5 separate regions of the Homo sapiens genome follow, and all the other regions are linked to region 1. The links are contacts of gene promoters, found by promoter capture Hi-C in human tissues and cell types (Jung and others, 2019). All regions are on one chromosome and are shown on one strand. Each heading gives the region's core, a stretch centred on a gene start or on the middle of the fragment in contact. The rest is flanking DNA. Distances are from core to core; before and after follow the strand shown.

Region 1 (2,960 bases), core at 329-2,828:
AGCGGCGGCGGCGGCCTGCGCGGCGGCGGCGGCAGCGGCGGCCGGGCCCAAGCTGCCCCCGATGATGCTCTCGATGGAGAAGGGCGAGCGCGCCAGCGCTGAGGCGCCCGGGCCGCCCGCCTTGGCCGCGGAGGCCGGCAGGGGGCCGGGTAGGGCGGCGCCGAGCGGGTGCGGCCGGTAGCCGAAGGCGGTCCGGGCCAGCTCGGCGGCCGCGCCGTGCGGTGGCGGGGGCGGCGGGGGCGAGTGCGGGTGGAAGGCGGCGGCGGCGGCGGCGGCCGCTGCGGCGGCGAAGAGGGCCGAGGGCGGCGCGTAAGGCGGCAGCTGCAGGCCGTAGCCGCAGCCGTAGGGGCCGTAGCCGTAGGCATGCGGGGGCGGCGGGGGCGCGGGCGGGAAGAGCGCGGCGGCGGCTGCCGGGTCGCCCGCGCCCCCTGCGGCTCCCGCGCCGCGCAGCAGCAGAGACTCGGCGGCCGCGGCGTTGGGTGGGAGCAGCGGCTGCCGCTTGAAGCGCTTCCTCCGGCGCAGGAAGCTGCCGTTGTCGAACATGTCGGCGGACTCCGGGTCCAGCGTCCAGTAGTTGCCCTTGCCCGGGTTGCCGGGCTCGCGGGGGATCTTGACGAAGCAGTCGTTGAGCGAGAGGTTGTGGCGGATGCTGTTCTGCCAGGCGGGGAACTTCTCCCGGTAGTAGGGGAAGCGGCCGCTGATGAACTCACAGATCTCGCTCAGCGTCAGCCGCTTCTTGGGGCTCTGCAGGATGGCCATAGTGATGAGCGCGATATACGAGTAGGGCGGCTTCACCAGCGGGTTCTTGGCGCCGCTACCCGCGCTCCCGCCGCCGCCCGCGCCGCCGCCGCCGCCGCCCCCACCGGCTCCTGCCCCCGCCGCCGGGGCCGGGCCCGGGGGCGCCGGGGAGCCCCCAGCAGGCGGGGCCAGCAGGATGTCATCGTCGTCCTCCTCCTCCTCCAGATCCTCCAGCTCGTCCTCCCCGGCGTACGAGCGCCGCCGCCGCCGCCGCTGCGCGGGGACAGCCAGCCGGGGCCCGCCACCGCCGCCCTCGTCGTCGTCCTCCTCTTCCTCGTCTTCTTCGTCCTCGCCCTCCCCCACCACGTCGATGTCTGTTTCCTCGGCGAGGCCAGAGGCATCGGACATCTCAGTGCTCAGGGTCATAGCTGTGGCGCGGCGGCGGCGGGGCGGCGCATGGGGGCGCCGGGCTCCGGGCTCCCTCTGCGCCCCAGCCCGGGTCCCGGGCGGCAGGCCCGGCCGGGGGGCGCCACGCTGGGGGCGCTGCGACTGCGGCTGCCGGAGCTGCGCCGGGGCTGCCGGGTGGCGGCGGAGTCTCGCGCGCCGACTTTATAACTCCTGCGCCGCCGCGGTAGCCGCGCGGATGCTGCGCTCCCTGGGCTCCGCTCGCGCCCGGCCCGGGCGGAGGACTTGACCTTCTCCTCTCGGAGCAGCTTTTGCCCCGTCAGCTGAGGAGGGGGTGGCGGGGCCCGGGCGGGCGAATCAGAACGCCAGGCGCCCAGGAACGTGCGGGACGGGTGAGAGTCTAAGAACAGAGCTCGGCGAGGCCAGGGCTGAGTCCAGGAGAGGGCGGACCTTCCTCGGCTTATAGCAGAAGGGGGCCTGTCACATGGTGTGCACGTCAGAGCGCTGCCGAGGGAAGGAAAGCAAGCCTAGGAAATCAGCCCTTCTCGGGAGAGAAAATTCACCCGTAGGAGGGAGGCAGCAGCTGAGAAGAGTGGGGAGGAGAGGGGACCTCACTATTTCTTGCCAAAGAGGCTGATGCCCGAATTACGCGGCTGTCTGCACCGAGGGCCGCTGCACGAGTTAGACTTCCCAGCCTCCTCAATTAGTCCTCCACCCTAACCTCAGAAGCACACCCGCGACACTCTGGTTTGACCCCTCGACAGCCTGTAGGAGCCTTCCAGCCGGGGGATAACCACCCCATCCTCTGAGGTGGCCCCTGGGGGACGCTCTGGGGTCGGTTGGGGGTGTCCAGCCCCTCCAGATCGGGCGAGCGGCCCCCCATTGGATCTGATGCGAAGCCCCCCAATTTAAGCACGATAATAATTGTTTATTGACCCTTTAACCCATTCTCTTCGGTTTTACTCCAAAGACGTTTGTTTTCCGCCATCTGTTAATAAAAACGCTGTGAGACTGGCGTTTTACTCACTTCTCTGCGATTGAATGCCCTAGAGACTTGACAGTTAAACTAAGCCACTCTAATGAGACGATCTGACAAATGTCATGGGAATAAAGAACGTAATAATTGAATTCGGAGAAGAAATTGAAATTTTTAGTGAAAACCCAAATACACGCACAAAAATTGCACCTAGAAACTACTAAAAAGTTCGACCAGCCTGGCCAACATGGTGAAACCCCGTCTCTACTAAAAATAGAAAAAAATTAGTAGGCGGCGCCTGTAATCCCAGCTACTCGGGAGGCCGAGGCAGGAGAATCGCTTGGACCCGGGATGCGGAGGTTGCAGTGAGCCGAGATCGTGCCACTGCACTCCAGCCTGGGCAACAAGAGCGAAACTCCGCCTCAAAAAAAAAAAAAAAAAACAGAAGTTCGTTCATAATGGGGCTATATAGTTCTCAGTAGGAGGAACATTCTAGTCAGCACTTTGCATAGTAATCTCAAAATACTTAAATTACATAACATATACATATTTCTACTGAGGCTTATTAATAGAAACTATAATGATAGATGACTTTAAGATAAACTTTTTAAAAATGTGTTTTTGGAAAATCCTTAAATATTGTTAATCCTTTCTGGTGAGATGAAAATTTTTTTTATGAGATTAAAGTTCCGCTCAATTCAGTTTTCTTTTCGGGTGACAAGATAGTGGAAATAATTAAGATATGATGCTCTTTTAAATATACCTATCTTTATCACCAACTCAAACGAGCTATTTTGGCTAGTGGAAAAATCCTAATAGTTTGTTGAATTCACATTCACTT
Region 2 (2,960 bases), core at 296-2,795, 440 kb before region 1:
TTGCGAAGGTACTTGGTAAACTATCCATTTCATTTAGCTGTTACGTATTTGAACAGGGGCAGGATATTAGAGGATTCCAGTAACTGGTATAAAATAATGTCAGCTGTGTGGAACTGGGAGAAGAGTAAAACAAAAAAAATCTATAGGAGCAAACTAGAAAATTGTTACGGGTTTTAGTCACTTTCGCTAGGGATAGGCAGCTCAATACAACTCAGTAACTCGGATATATCTTTATATTACAGCAAAATATCATGATGTGTTTTCTTGATGATATTTCTTGTTAGAAACCATAATAAAAGCAGGCACTATTTATTTTTAAATTTAACTGTATGCCAGACCCTATTCCAAGCATTTTGTATAACTACATTACTACTACAGCTTTTTTTAAAAAAAAGGTGATATTGTTCCCTTTTTAGTAATGAGAGAACTGTATAAATTTCTAAGACAAGGTCAGATGGGTAGTGCAGTGCTGAGATTTCACTTTCCTTGGTTTCAGTTACCTACTGTCCAGTACAGTAGAATATTTAGAGAGAGAGAGACCGTATTCACATATGATGTTATTACAGTATGTTGTTATAATTGTTATATTTTATTAGTTGTTAATCTCTTACTGTGCCTAATTTATAAATTAAACTTTATCATAGTTATGTATGTATAGGAAAAAACATAGTATATAATACAGAGTCTGTACCATCCATGGCTTCAGACATCTACTGGGATCTTAGAATGTATTCCCCATGGATAAAGGGGCAGTAGTGTAAACGGTAGAGCCAGAATTTCAGTTGAATTTCTTCTGGCTCCAAAATCAGCTTTGTTTATGTTTCATGGTAAAGTGGCATCCTATATTCTTTAAGAAGGCAGGAAAGTACATAACATATATACTTAATATAGTATAAACAATTACATTTTAGAGAGAGTACAAAGTTGCTTGTTTAGGGAGTAGGACTATATGTACCTCTTACCAAACCCAAACCTCAGGGTAAACCCAGTTTTCTCTTTGTAGTTTTTTGTTTTTAGATTCCTGATCATGGCTAAAGATAATTACATATTGGTACTGATCGGCTTTAAACAAATTAAGTATTTTACAGCTTTCCTTGGACTTCAGTGGCACTTAGCAACACTTTTATTCATCTAGTCATGAGCTCTTGCATCCTCCACAATTATGGTTTGAAACTTTTTTTGTTCTCCTTAAGCTCCCAACCTACCCTACTGTTTCTCACTCATACCAGACCCATCTGTTACCTCGTCAAGAAAATGGGGATTTTTATATCTTGAAATCCTATAGCTTGTCTTTCTTTGATCTCCTTTAAACTCTTTTTTAGTCCAACCACATCACTCCATCTTCCTGTATCCAAGTTGATCAGGCCTTTGAGAATATCAAGCTTCTTGATAGCTGTGTATCTGCTTCAACCTACAAACTACACATAATCTTTTCCTTTCTCAAATGCCTATCTTCTTATAATTTACCTTAACTTCTGTGGCTGTGTTACTTTATTGCAATTTCTGTTTATGTATAGGTTGTACAGTACTGCTTAATATGTTTTTTTAATTAAATAAGTAACTTATAAAACCAGAACTATACTATTATGGTAACAGTTTCGTTTTTTAAGTCTTGAAAAAATAGGCAAAGATTGAAAACAAGTTTCTGTATTTGCTGGAGCATAATGGAAGCTGAGAAACATCAAGGAAACCAGCCTTCACAACTTTCGAGATAGGTTTATAGTTTATAGATAGGTTTAATCAGACATTGAATGAAATATATGTATGCTGTGGTGGAGGAAAATTCACAGCTGCGAAAAGGAGTGTCAAGCACGTTCTGGTGGTATTGTGACATTTTTGTATATTGTCTGGAAGTTTCTCTCCAACAGTGTGTTAACATATCTTAGTAACACTGTAGCATTATAATGTAATTATGCAATCTTAGTCTGGGATTTAAAATGAGAGTATTTTAACTTTTCAAAGCACATTCCATCAAACAGAAAAGAGAATCAGTGTTTACTTCCTGACTTCTTGGCTGACTGTAACAACAACAATAAAAAAAGACTAAAGAGGGCCTCACAACAAGTATCAAAGTTAGTTATATGTCATATTGAACTCTTAAAATGTATTTTAATTTGTTATTCATATTAACTTACATTAGGAAAGAAAAAAGGTCAATGCACAGTTAAAAGTTTTTTATTTTATTTTATTACAGGCAGCTGTTAAATCTAAGAAAGCTACAGATACCTATAAACTCTATGTGGAAAAATATGCATTAGCAAAAGCTGATTTCGAACAGAAAATGACAGAAACAGCTCAGGTTGGTATTTTAAGGCTTCAGATTGAAAACAGGGCATTTATATTTGTGTATATTGATTAATTTTTCTCTCATATAATTTTTTAGTGTTGGAAGTTTTAAAATGCACAATCTCAATTTGTTAATGATGCTGTTTTAAAAATACATGTCGCGTTTTGGAGATTGAGGACCAAGATGCAATAATTATAATGTCATAAGGAATTATACAGGTAGATCAGAAGAGCCTGTTTAAAGGTAATTGGGGAAACTGAGGGCATTGGTACATGATGAAGACAGTGCTTAAGAAGCATTAATAAGAAAACTGGAAGTGACTTAGTAGTGAGGCTACGGCAGTCAATACAACCCAAAAAATCCCTGGTCTCAAAGAACTTACATATTAGTGAGGGAAGACAGACACAAATGTCTGCCATCCATTAGCTTGGGATAAATTATATTTGGTGTAGTGTTCTTAGAACCTTAATTAAAGGCCTCGTTTAAGGTGGCTGCCTTTTAGGAATCATACCTAACATTTCCACTCTCCGCTGCCCCTGCTTCTTGTCCTTTTCCTTGTTTTATTTTCCTGCTTAGCACCTATCGTGATCTTACATACCAAGAATTTTATTCCTGTATCATTCAGGTCAGAGTAAGTATGCTGTGGTGACACAAGGCCCCAGAAATCTCAGTG
Region 3 (2,960 bases), core at 249-2,748, 390 kb before region 1:
GTGGCTAGAAGGATAATTATTTTAAATAGAAAACAGCGTATCTATATTATTTCCTGTAGAGCTGAGAGACATGCTTTAAACTTCAATACATGGCTACAACATTTTTCAGAAATCACCAAAGCCAAAAAGTAACTTCTGATTCAGAATGTTAAACGGTTTCACTGGCATTCTCTGTCTTATTAACCAGAAAGCGTTTATAAGATGAGTAATATTGAATTTTACCTATTTTTAAGTTGTGTCACAATTACAAATTCTATTATAATTTAATTATACTAAAAATTATACTAAAAACTTTTCTAAGGTGCTAATACCTTTTGCAGAATCATGCATTAAAAATAACAAGGGTTGTGGGAAAAACAGTTGAAGCAGCCCACTCAAAAGCTATGTAATTTTGTTAACAGAAGACTTAACAGAAACTTTAACATCAGTTTTATTAAAAATTCTAACAGAGTTTAAGAGACCTAGTAAATGAATAATAAATACCAAAATAAAAGTAAGGATTTTATCTTTAAAGAAATGTTGATTGTAGCTTAATGATAGGGGGTGTGAGGAAAATGAGGATAAATGCAGGGTGCTGAGTTGTGGAGATGAGAGCAAAATGCAGAAATATTGAAGAATAGCACAATAAACACTGAGGCAAAACAACCAACCAAACTGAGCCAAGTGAAGAATGTAGAGTGAATGGTTATCATGTACTGTGATACTCCTCCATAGTTTGTGGAAGTTACTCATATTGATGTACTTTGCATTCATCAGGTATTGCTTGGTGATGCAAAGAAAACATGAAGGTGCAGCAAAAATTGCTTATGCACCAACATGAGTTTTTCATTAATGATGCTATTCCCCTGTTTACCACTTGCTTGTGAAATGAGGCACATTACAAATCCAAAAGGTAGCAAAACAAACTATCTTATAAAGAGACTTGCTCCAGGTTGCTGTAAGATTCTTAATTTTTCAAAATATGACATCCTCAAGAGTTAATAACTACTTTTTGTCAATACAATAATCACTAATAATATTCTTAGAACTTGAAAAATGCATTCATGATTCATCAGTTAAAATTCTTAACTAGAATTTATGTATTTAAACATTTTTCTAATTTTTAAAGTTGCAACCCATAGTTTCTCTTTTCTAAACAGCAATTTTAATGAATATCATAGTTTAATTGACTTAAGTCATTTCTTACTAAAGATATTAGAAGGAACCAGGGTTTTGTAATTTCAGTTATTTTAATGTACACAATAGAAAACTTGTTAAAATATTGTTTGTATTTACATTATCAATTCCAAAATTTTTAATTGTTATAGTGTTGAGATATGTGTATAGAGTTTCTGTTTTTCATTAAAATATTTTATTTCTCAGATTATGAAGTTTTCATATTTTAATTTTTTAATTAGATGAGGAGTTAACAAAATCAAAGCCATCTGCTCCACCCAATGAGTAAGTTTCCATGTTTAATTTTGTTAAAAAATAGACTTTATTTTTTAGAGCAGTGTTTGATTTATGGCAAAATTGAATGGAAAGCACAGAGATTTCCCTTTATGCTCCCTGCCCCTTCATATGCCCAGTCTCTCTCACAGTCAAATTCTCTCACCAGAGTGGTACATTTGTTAGAATCAGTGAACCTGCATTGACACATCATAATCACCTAAAGTCCACAGTTTACATTAGGGTTCATTCTTGGTGTTGGACAAATGTGTAAGGACATGTATTCGTCATTATAGTATCATACAGAGTATTTTTGCTGCCCTGAAAATCTTCTGTGCTCCACCTTCTCATCCCTTCTTCCACACACTTACATTTTAAGTATCCTTTTGTCTTTTTTTCTAGAGTTTTATTAGCTCTATAGTTTTAATTCCAGTAAAGTTCTGTTAATCATCCTGTTTTCTGAGCTGTCAAATGCAATGTTGGAGTTTTTAGAAGTTTAAAATTATTTCTCGCTTGGTAATATGTCCTTTTACAATAAAAAAAATCTATTTAACCACAGTTGGCCTTGGTAGCCTCACTACTTCTAAATAAATGATGAAACCCTAAATTCATACATATCTGTATTTCAGCTGGTTATTCTCATGGGAATTTTCTCATTTCTTCCTTCAGTTTTGACTGTGACGTTATAAAATAATATACTTCGTAAGCTTCAAAAAAAGAAGTGTGTCAAGTTGGAAAGGGAGAGAGAGGCTAGAAGGCATGTTGCCAGCTCTTCTTAAAAAAAAAAATGTTAAGCCAATGTTTCATGGGTCTCTTTTTACTTCTGTGTCTATCAGTTAAGAATACTCTCTTTGAGTTAATGGTTTTTTGCTTGTCTGTTTTGAGACAGGGTCTTACTCTGTCTCTCAGGCTGGAGTGCAGTGGCGTGATCATGGCTCTCTGCAGCCTCAACGTCCCAGGCTCAAATGATCCTCCCGCCCCTGTCTCCCAGCTAATTTTTTTCAAAATTTTTTTTTTTTGGTAGATACTGGGTCTTGCTATATTTCCCAGGCTGGTCTCGAACTCCTGGACTCAGACTCCTGAGCCTCTCAAAGTACTGTGATTACAGGCATGAGCCATCAAGCCTGGCCAGAGTTAATGTAAAATACAAGTAAAAGTAGGCTTAGTTAAATAGGTAGTTTACAATTATTTGATACTTTTGAGGTACTAATTGAGCATAGTGGTGGTATTTATTGGATGTATCATTTTTTTAAAGATAAGTTGTTGAGTGTTTTAAAACTGTTTTTAGGAGTCATACAGTTGCAATGCTAGGCTTTATCATACGAGGTATAGTGTGCTTTCATGTAGGTGCATGTTGAGATGCTGGATATGTACTCTTATGTAATTACAGCACTTTCATTATAGAGGGCCTGTTTTTTTGTGTGTGTAAGATTTCCTAAAATTTTTTAAAATAATGGCAGTTTGATGCATTAAAATATGTAAGCCACCTTTCTGTACTTAAGGGCTTAAAAAAATCACTTTACCCTTTTTCT
Region 4 (2,960 bases), core at 174-2,673, 290 kb before region 1:
CTTCATCTCCACTCAGGCCTCTCAGCAAGCTCTGGAAAGACCTCTCGCAGCTCCGCTGGTGAGGCCTGTGAGCCAGGGCAGGGGCGGGGGTTGCTTTATGTTCCCCCGGTGACACACTTCCCGACCTACCTCAACTTTACAGAGGCACATGTTGACTCTATTCCAGGCCTTAACTATTTCTGTTCCTTTGAACATGTAAAACAAACAAAAACAACAATGAAACACAAAAACCAATAATAACAAATATAATAAAAACTCTGCAAATGCCCCTGAGGGTTTCCAGCCCCGCTCTCCACATCTCAGCCGACTTGGTGTTGAGATGCGTGCTTTCTGCCTCGGGTTGTATGATCTCTGAGGAGGAGATCATGGTGGCTGTGGGATTATATACACACGCTTTACCAAGATGTCTTCCTTTGCAGTGACAGGACTTAAGCTGACTCTAGGAATCAGAGAAGGTTCACTTTTGCCTTCAGGCCTAGGAGCAGCTCATCCTCAGTCCCCAGGCAGTGCCTCCCGGGGCTGCCTTCAGGGCCTCCTGACAAGGGCCTGGGTGCTTTACCCCCACCATAGACTCAAGCACTCAAGGAGAAAGTTTCCAGAAACTGAACAGGATGAAGTAATTATAGCCGAAAGTCACTGAACTTACTACGCTATGTGTTCTCTGTATGATCTCACTTGATCCTGATAACCTTATGATGTAGGTCCCATCATTCATAAATGAGGAAACTGAGGCTCAGTGAGGCTAAGCAGCTGGCCCATTTACATAGCTAGTGATTGGAGAAGCCAGAATTTGATTGTAGAAAAGACTCCAAAGCCTGTACTCTTAACCGTGACATGCATGGAAGCGCGCGCACACACACACACACACACACACACAATTGACATATATGTGCATTCTTTGGTCTCTACAGTGTAATCTTTTTTGTAATATTCACAAATCATACGTTGTTAGAAATGGAAGTCATTTTAGAGATTACCTATCTGACTCCTCCCCAACTTTTACTTCCATAGAAAAGGAAACTGGGGACCTACCTTAGAGAAATAGTTTTCAAACCTGAGCAAGCATCAGAATCACCCAAGGGACTGGCTAAAACACAGACCTCTGGCCCCATCTCCAGAGTTTCTAATTCTGTAGGTCGAGGTGGGGCCCAAAATATATATTTCTAACAAGTTCCCAGGTGCTGCTGCTGCTGGTTCTGGGCCCCCACTTGGAGAACCGCTGCAGTAGAGTAAATTGGACATGTGAAGGCCTGCAAGACCCACTGCAGTGTTGTTACTTGAACGTGCTTAGCAATGTTGATGAGGCCTGGACAAACATGTCCCCTGGTCACTCTTAGCAGACTCATTCGTCCTTTACTAACTCTCTTTGGGTCTCAGCAACAGAAACAGAATGTGGCAGGCAGAATTCTAAAAATGCTCCCCGCTAAAAAAAAAAAAATCCCACATCTTTATTCCTCAAAGCCTGAGAACATGTGGCATCGTTCCTATGATTGTGTTATGTTATACGGCACAGTGGACCCACAAAAAGGGAGTATCTGGGTGGGTGTAATTTAATCACATGGCTCCTTAAAACCGGATAACTTTCCATGGCTGTTGTGGCAGAAGAGTAGGGCAGAAAGGGGGAAATCAGAGAGACTTGAAGCTCAAGAGCTTGGCTAGTCTTGCAGCACTATTGCTGTTTTGAAGATGGAGCGGCCCAAGTGAGAAGGAATGTGGGGGGCTTCTAGGAGCAGAAAGGAATTTCTGGCAGGGAATTGGAACCTCAGTCTTATGTTGCTTAGGACCAAATTCGGCCAACAGCCTGAATGAGCTTGGGAACAGATTATTTCCTGAGCCTCCAGATAATACAGAGGGATGCCTGACCTACAGAACCGTGAACGAATAAATGAATGTAGTTTTAAGCCTCTAAGTGTGTGGTTATTCTGAAGTGGAAACTAACATACAAGTACATAAATTCCTGAGCTCAGAAGCAAGCCCACTGCAGACCTACTCCATCCAGAAGCTTCTCACACCAAGAGCTGGGCCTCTGGGAGGCTCACCTTATCATTTGCTGGAAATGGCAGTGGCTGTGACTTAAATTCCAGCCCCATCAAGGTAGTTTTCAGTTCAGTTGGTGTCTGAGTGCATTTTCTGCTGCTATAAAGGAATACATGAGGCTGAGTCATTTATAAAGAGAAGTTTATTTGGCTTATAATTTTGATGACTGGGCATCTGCCTCTGGTGAGGGCCTCAGGCTGCTCTCACTCATGATGGAAGACGGGGAGCTCATGTGTGCAGAGATCACATGGCAGGAGGGGAAGCAAGAAAAACAGTGGGGAGGCACCAGGCTCTTTTAACAACCAGCTTTACAGGGAACTAATAGGGTGAGAAGTCACCCCCAAAAAAGGGCATTATTCTATTCATCAGGGATCCCCTCATGACCCAAACACTTCCCATCAGGCCAATTTCCAACAGTAGGGATCAAAGCTCAACATGAGTTTTGGAGGAGACAAACATTCAAATCATCGCAGCTGGGGAAAAAAATCTAAAGATTATCAGGACACCCAGGAAACTGCCTACCCAACCAACCTCAGCAGACACCAGCCTCGCTCGAGAACACAGGCAGATCACTTGCCTGCCAGTGCCTGCCCTTCATGGATGAGCAATTTTAAAAACACTTTAGGAAAACAGATTGTCCTCCTGCACTACCACTAAATCAAATAGCCTACTTTCCTGTTCTGAGATTAATCATCTGTAAAACAGAGGCCTTGCTTCTCACCAGGATATCAGAAAGTTCAAGCAAGAATACGGTGTAAAGACACAGAATCCATACTCCATACAGCAATGATCGCCACCGCCACCTACAATATTCTTGTTACTGTTTTGTTTTGTTTTTTTGAGATAGGGTCTCACTCTGTCACCCAGGCTGGAGGGTGGTGGCATGATCATAGCTCATTGACACCTCGATCTCTCAGGCTCAA
Region 5 (2,960 bases), core at 173-2,672, 260 kb before region 1:
GGGAAATGAGCCAGATTCTTCCAAAAGCCTAAATCACTCTCTTAGTCAGGCGATCAAAACAGCATGCTCACCCTGGGCAGAGCACCAGAGTTGGGCAGCCTCCAAAACTGGCCTTGAAAAAATTCCCAGTTTTTCAGCAGGATTAGACCCTTGCCTCTCCTTCATTCCTCAGAAGGATGCAGAAAGTGTAAGGGATTCCTTAAAGGATCACAGTTCAGTCCCTACACTTTCCCAAACCCCAATCCCGACCCAAGGGAAAACAACGTAAAAGGCAGAGAGGTATGTATTTAGTCTGTGATCTGTTCCATTAGCAAGTTCAGGTCACTGGGGATTGCATCAGGCCAGCTGGGGTGGGCGGGGCTCATCTGAAGGGCTATGCAGACTATCTACCACACATCCTCAGTGGGCACCATTCACAGCATAGTCTAATTTACTGGTTCTCAAACATGGTGGGTGCATATTAGAATTACTTGGGCATTTAAAAAAATCCCAAGCCAGGATGCAACTCAGAACAATTACATCAGACAACCTGGAGGAGGGACTAAGACATCAATAATGTTTAAATTTCCTCCAAATGTTTCCAACATGCAGCTGAGTTTAAGGCCCAGTGGTCTCATTCATGTAGACTTTGATGTGAATGGCACTCCCTGTAGCTGTGCTGAGTATGACCTGCAAAGACATATTTCATAGTCCTAGGTGGAGGTGGAGATGCAAAGAGTTAGCAGAGGACAATAGGGAGATGGGGATGCCTTCTAGGAAAAAAAAGACATGTCAAAAGGAAATCTAGAAAGTGGCCCTCACACCAGCCTCCTGTGACTAGGGTTGCCTGTAGACTGGGTAAAAAAAAAAATAAGACATTCTATTATTTGGGGCTCCTGAACAGTTTACATGATCCCAGATTTCTCTCCTGTTAATCTGCTCTAGTTCCTAATCTTCATTTCTTGGATATTGTCTTAGATATGTATTTTATGTAATTAAAATAGCAACCAACAAACACTCATGCATCACTTCAGAGTTTGCAAAGCCGTGTTTCAATGCCCATTATCCTCACCGGGATGACTCATAAAGTCTCTGCCCCCTGTCTGTGGAGTCCAAGTCCCTTTCTTTCTCAGATCCAGGTGCCATTAGAACTGGAGGATTGGTTTTTCACCAGCTTCTACACAGAGGTTTCCCACCTATGGTGTCTGCTGGGAATTTTTTTTCCTTTGCTGAATTTTTAATTACTGTGAAACAACTTGGAGCATGAGTTTATGGGCAAAATCAGCATTTCCAATGTGGCCTCATCCTTGCTCAAGGTAGGGCCCCAGGTCAAATGGCCGTCTGATCTCCACCAAAGGCCCAGTGTTAGGCACAAAGGAGGCACTTAGCAGCGCTTTGTGGAACAAATGCAGAGTGGATGCTGCGTTGGCAAACCATGCAGGCAGCCACCAGTCAGGAGAAAGGCTCTGGGTGCTGAGAGGGAGACTTACAGCCACAGAAAAGAACGGAATATTCCAAGCTTAAGTAGTTTTAAATTTGGTTGAGGATTCTGGTCTTAGCCCATCTTCAGCCTTGTCAAAGGCAATAGTCAAAGAGGGCTCCCGAAACTGTCCTGGTGAGCCAGAATGCAGGCTGAGTTCACAGTCTGGGTCCTCGGGTGGCCTAACACTCATGTGCAGTCACCAGGTCTCTGGTCCACAGGCAGTAGGAGCAGAGCAGCCAATTTCCTGTAGCCAAAAGACTTGGCCCCTGACTGGCTGAGTGGCTGTGAACACGTCCCTGAAAATTGTCATGCCTCTGTCTCTTTGATCCGACAAGTGGGGTTAATAGTCCCAGCCTCTTAATGTTGCTGTGAGACTCAGCTGCTGTTTAGCACGGCGCTCCATAAATGGTGGCAGTGGTATTATTGCAGGCTCCGGTCTATCTCCGATTTTACTGCCTTCACCAGTGAAAACCAGCAGGGCGAGCCTGGTCTCCTTCCTGTTCCCCACAGCCTGATCTGACAGGCTCTCTATCACCGGGCCATGATGTGTGCTTGTTTCATGGATCAGGAGATAACTAATACTTTTAGCAGGATATATTTGAACTGTAAGGTTCCAGTTCAGTCCTTTTCTTTAAGGACCTAGAATAGTGATTAAGAAAATAAGTTCCGGAGTCAAAATGGGCTCAAAGTTTTGCTCTACCACTGTGCTATATATAGCCTTGATGATAGGGTTTGGCTGCATCCCCACCCAAATCTTACCTTGAATTATAATCCCCATAATCCCCACGTGCTGTGGGAGGAACCTGGTGGGAGGTAATTGAATCATGGAGCCAGTTTCTCCCATGCTGTTCTAGAGCTAATGAGTGAGTTCTCATGAGATCTGATGGTTTTATAAGCGTCTGGCATTTCCCCTGCTGGCACTCATTCTCTCTCCTACTGCACTGTGAAAAGGCACCTTCTGCCATGATTGTAAGTTTCCTGAGGCCTCCCCAGCCATGTGGAACTGTGAGTCAATTAAACGTCTTTTCTTTATAAATTACTCAGTCTCAAGTATTTCTTCATAGCAGTAGGAGAATGGACTAATACACTTGGGCAAGGTTCTTGCCCTCGGTAAAGTGTCAATGTCCACATCTGTGAAATGAAATTGATGCTACTGTTTATGGCATAGGTTTATTGGGAGAATCAAAGGATATAATGCCTGGGACATAATTAGCACGTGATATGGGCAGTCCTGTTTATATCTCCCCTCCCTGTGATCTAGGACTAAAGACTCTCTTAGTAAATTCTCCCATGGTTTCCCATGGCAGTTCTGGCCAACTTCAGCTCTGTTCAACTCCAAGGATGCCGGGAAAGCCCTATTTTCCAGGAGTTTTCCTTCCAAAGTGTCCTCACTTGATGGAAATTTCTTAACTCCAAAAAGAGCTCTTGGGGCCAGGCACAATAGCTCACACCTGTAATCTCAGCACTTTGGGAGGCTCAAGCAGGTGGATCACTTGAG

What was found. The method cuts DNA at HindIII sites, captures the fragments that hold promoters and counts their contacts. A contact is called where the count stands out against the background at its distance.
Region 2: a contact is called between a fragment that was not itself captured here and the fragment with the promoter of FOXD1 in region 1, in 1 of the 25 tissues and cell types used here (mesenchymal stem cells).
Region 3: a fragment that was not itself captured here is called in contact with the fragment with the promoter of FOXD1 in region 1 in 2 of the 25 tissues and cell types used here (IMR-90 fibroblasts and hippocampus).
Region 4: a contact is called between a fragment that was not itself captured here and the fragment with the promoter of FOXD1 in region 1, in 1 of the 25 tissues and cell types used here (IMR-90 fibroblasts).
Region 5: a contact is called between a fragment that was not itself captured here and the fragment with the promoter of FOXD1 in region 1, in 1 of the 25 tissues and cell types used here (mesendoderm cells).

Annotation. Positions count from the first base shown.
Region 1 is chr5:73,447,199-73,450,158 of GRCh38, forward strand. FOXD1 (forkhead box D1) reads right to left here and starts at 1,579. Exons shown (of 1, transcript NM_004472.3): 1 at 1-1,579. The coding sequence starts at 1,164. The HindIII fragment of the contact is 13,220 bases long and covers 1-2,960 here.
Region 2 is chr5:73,004,251-73,007,210 of GRCh38, forward strand. FCHO2 (FCH and mu domain containing endocytic adaptor 2) reads left to right here. Exons shown (of 26, transcript NM_138782.3): 6 at 2,195-2,299. Among named protein-coding and RNA genes, the nearest start is that of FCHO2, 50 kb to the left of the region's middle. The HindIII fragment of the contact is 3,172 bases long and covers 1-2,960 here.
Region 3 is chr5:73,054,668-73,057,627 of GRCh38, forward strand. FCHO2 (FCH and mu domain containing endocytic adaptor 2) reads left to right here. Exons shown (of 26, transcript NM_138782.3): 16 at 1,398-1,440. Among named protein-coding and RNA genes, the nearest start is that of TMEM171, 64 kb to the right of the region's middle. The HindIII fragment of the contact is 6,677 bases long and covers 1-2,960 here.
Region 4 is chr5:73,155,892-73,158,851 of GRCh38, forward strand. No RefSeq gene overlaps it. Among named protein-coding and RNA genes, the nearest start is that of TMEM174, 16 kb to the right of the region's middle. RefSeq lists an enhancer at 1-359. The HindIII fragment of the contact is 3,303 bases long and covers 1-2,960 here.
Region 5 is chr5:73,189,954-73,192,913 of GRCh38, forward strand. No RefSeq gene overlaps it. Among named protein-coding and RNA genes, the nearest start is that of TMEM174, 18 kb to the left of the region's middle. The HindIII fragment of the contact is 4,970 bases long and covers 1-2,960 here.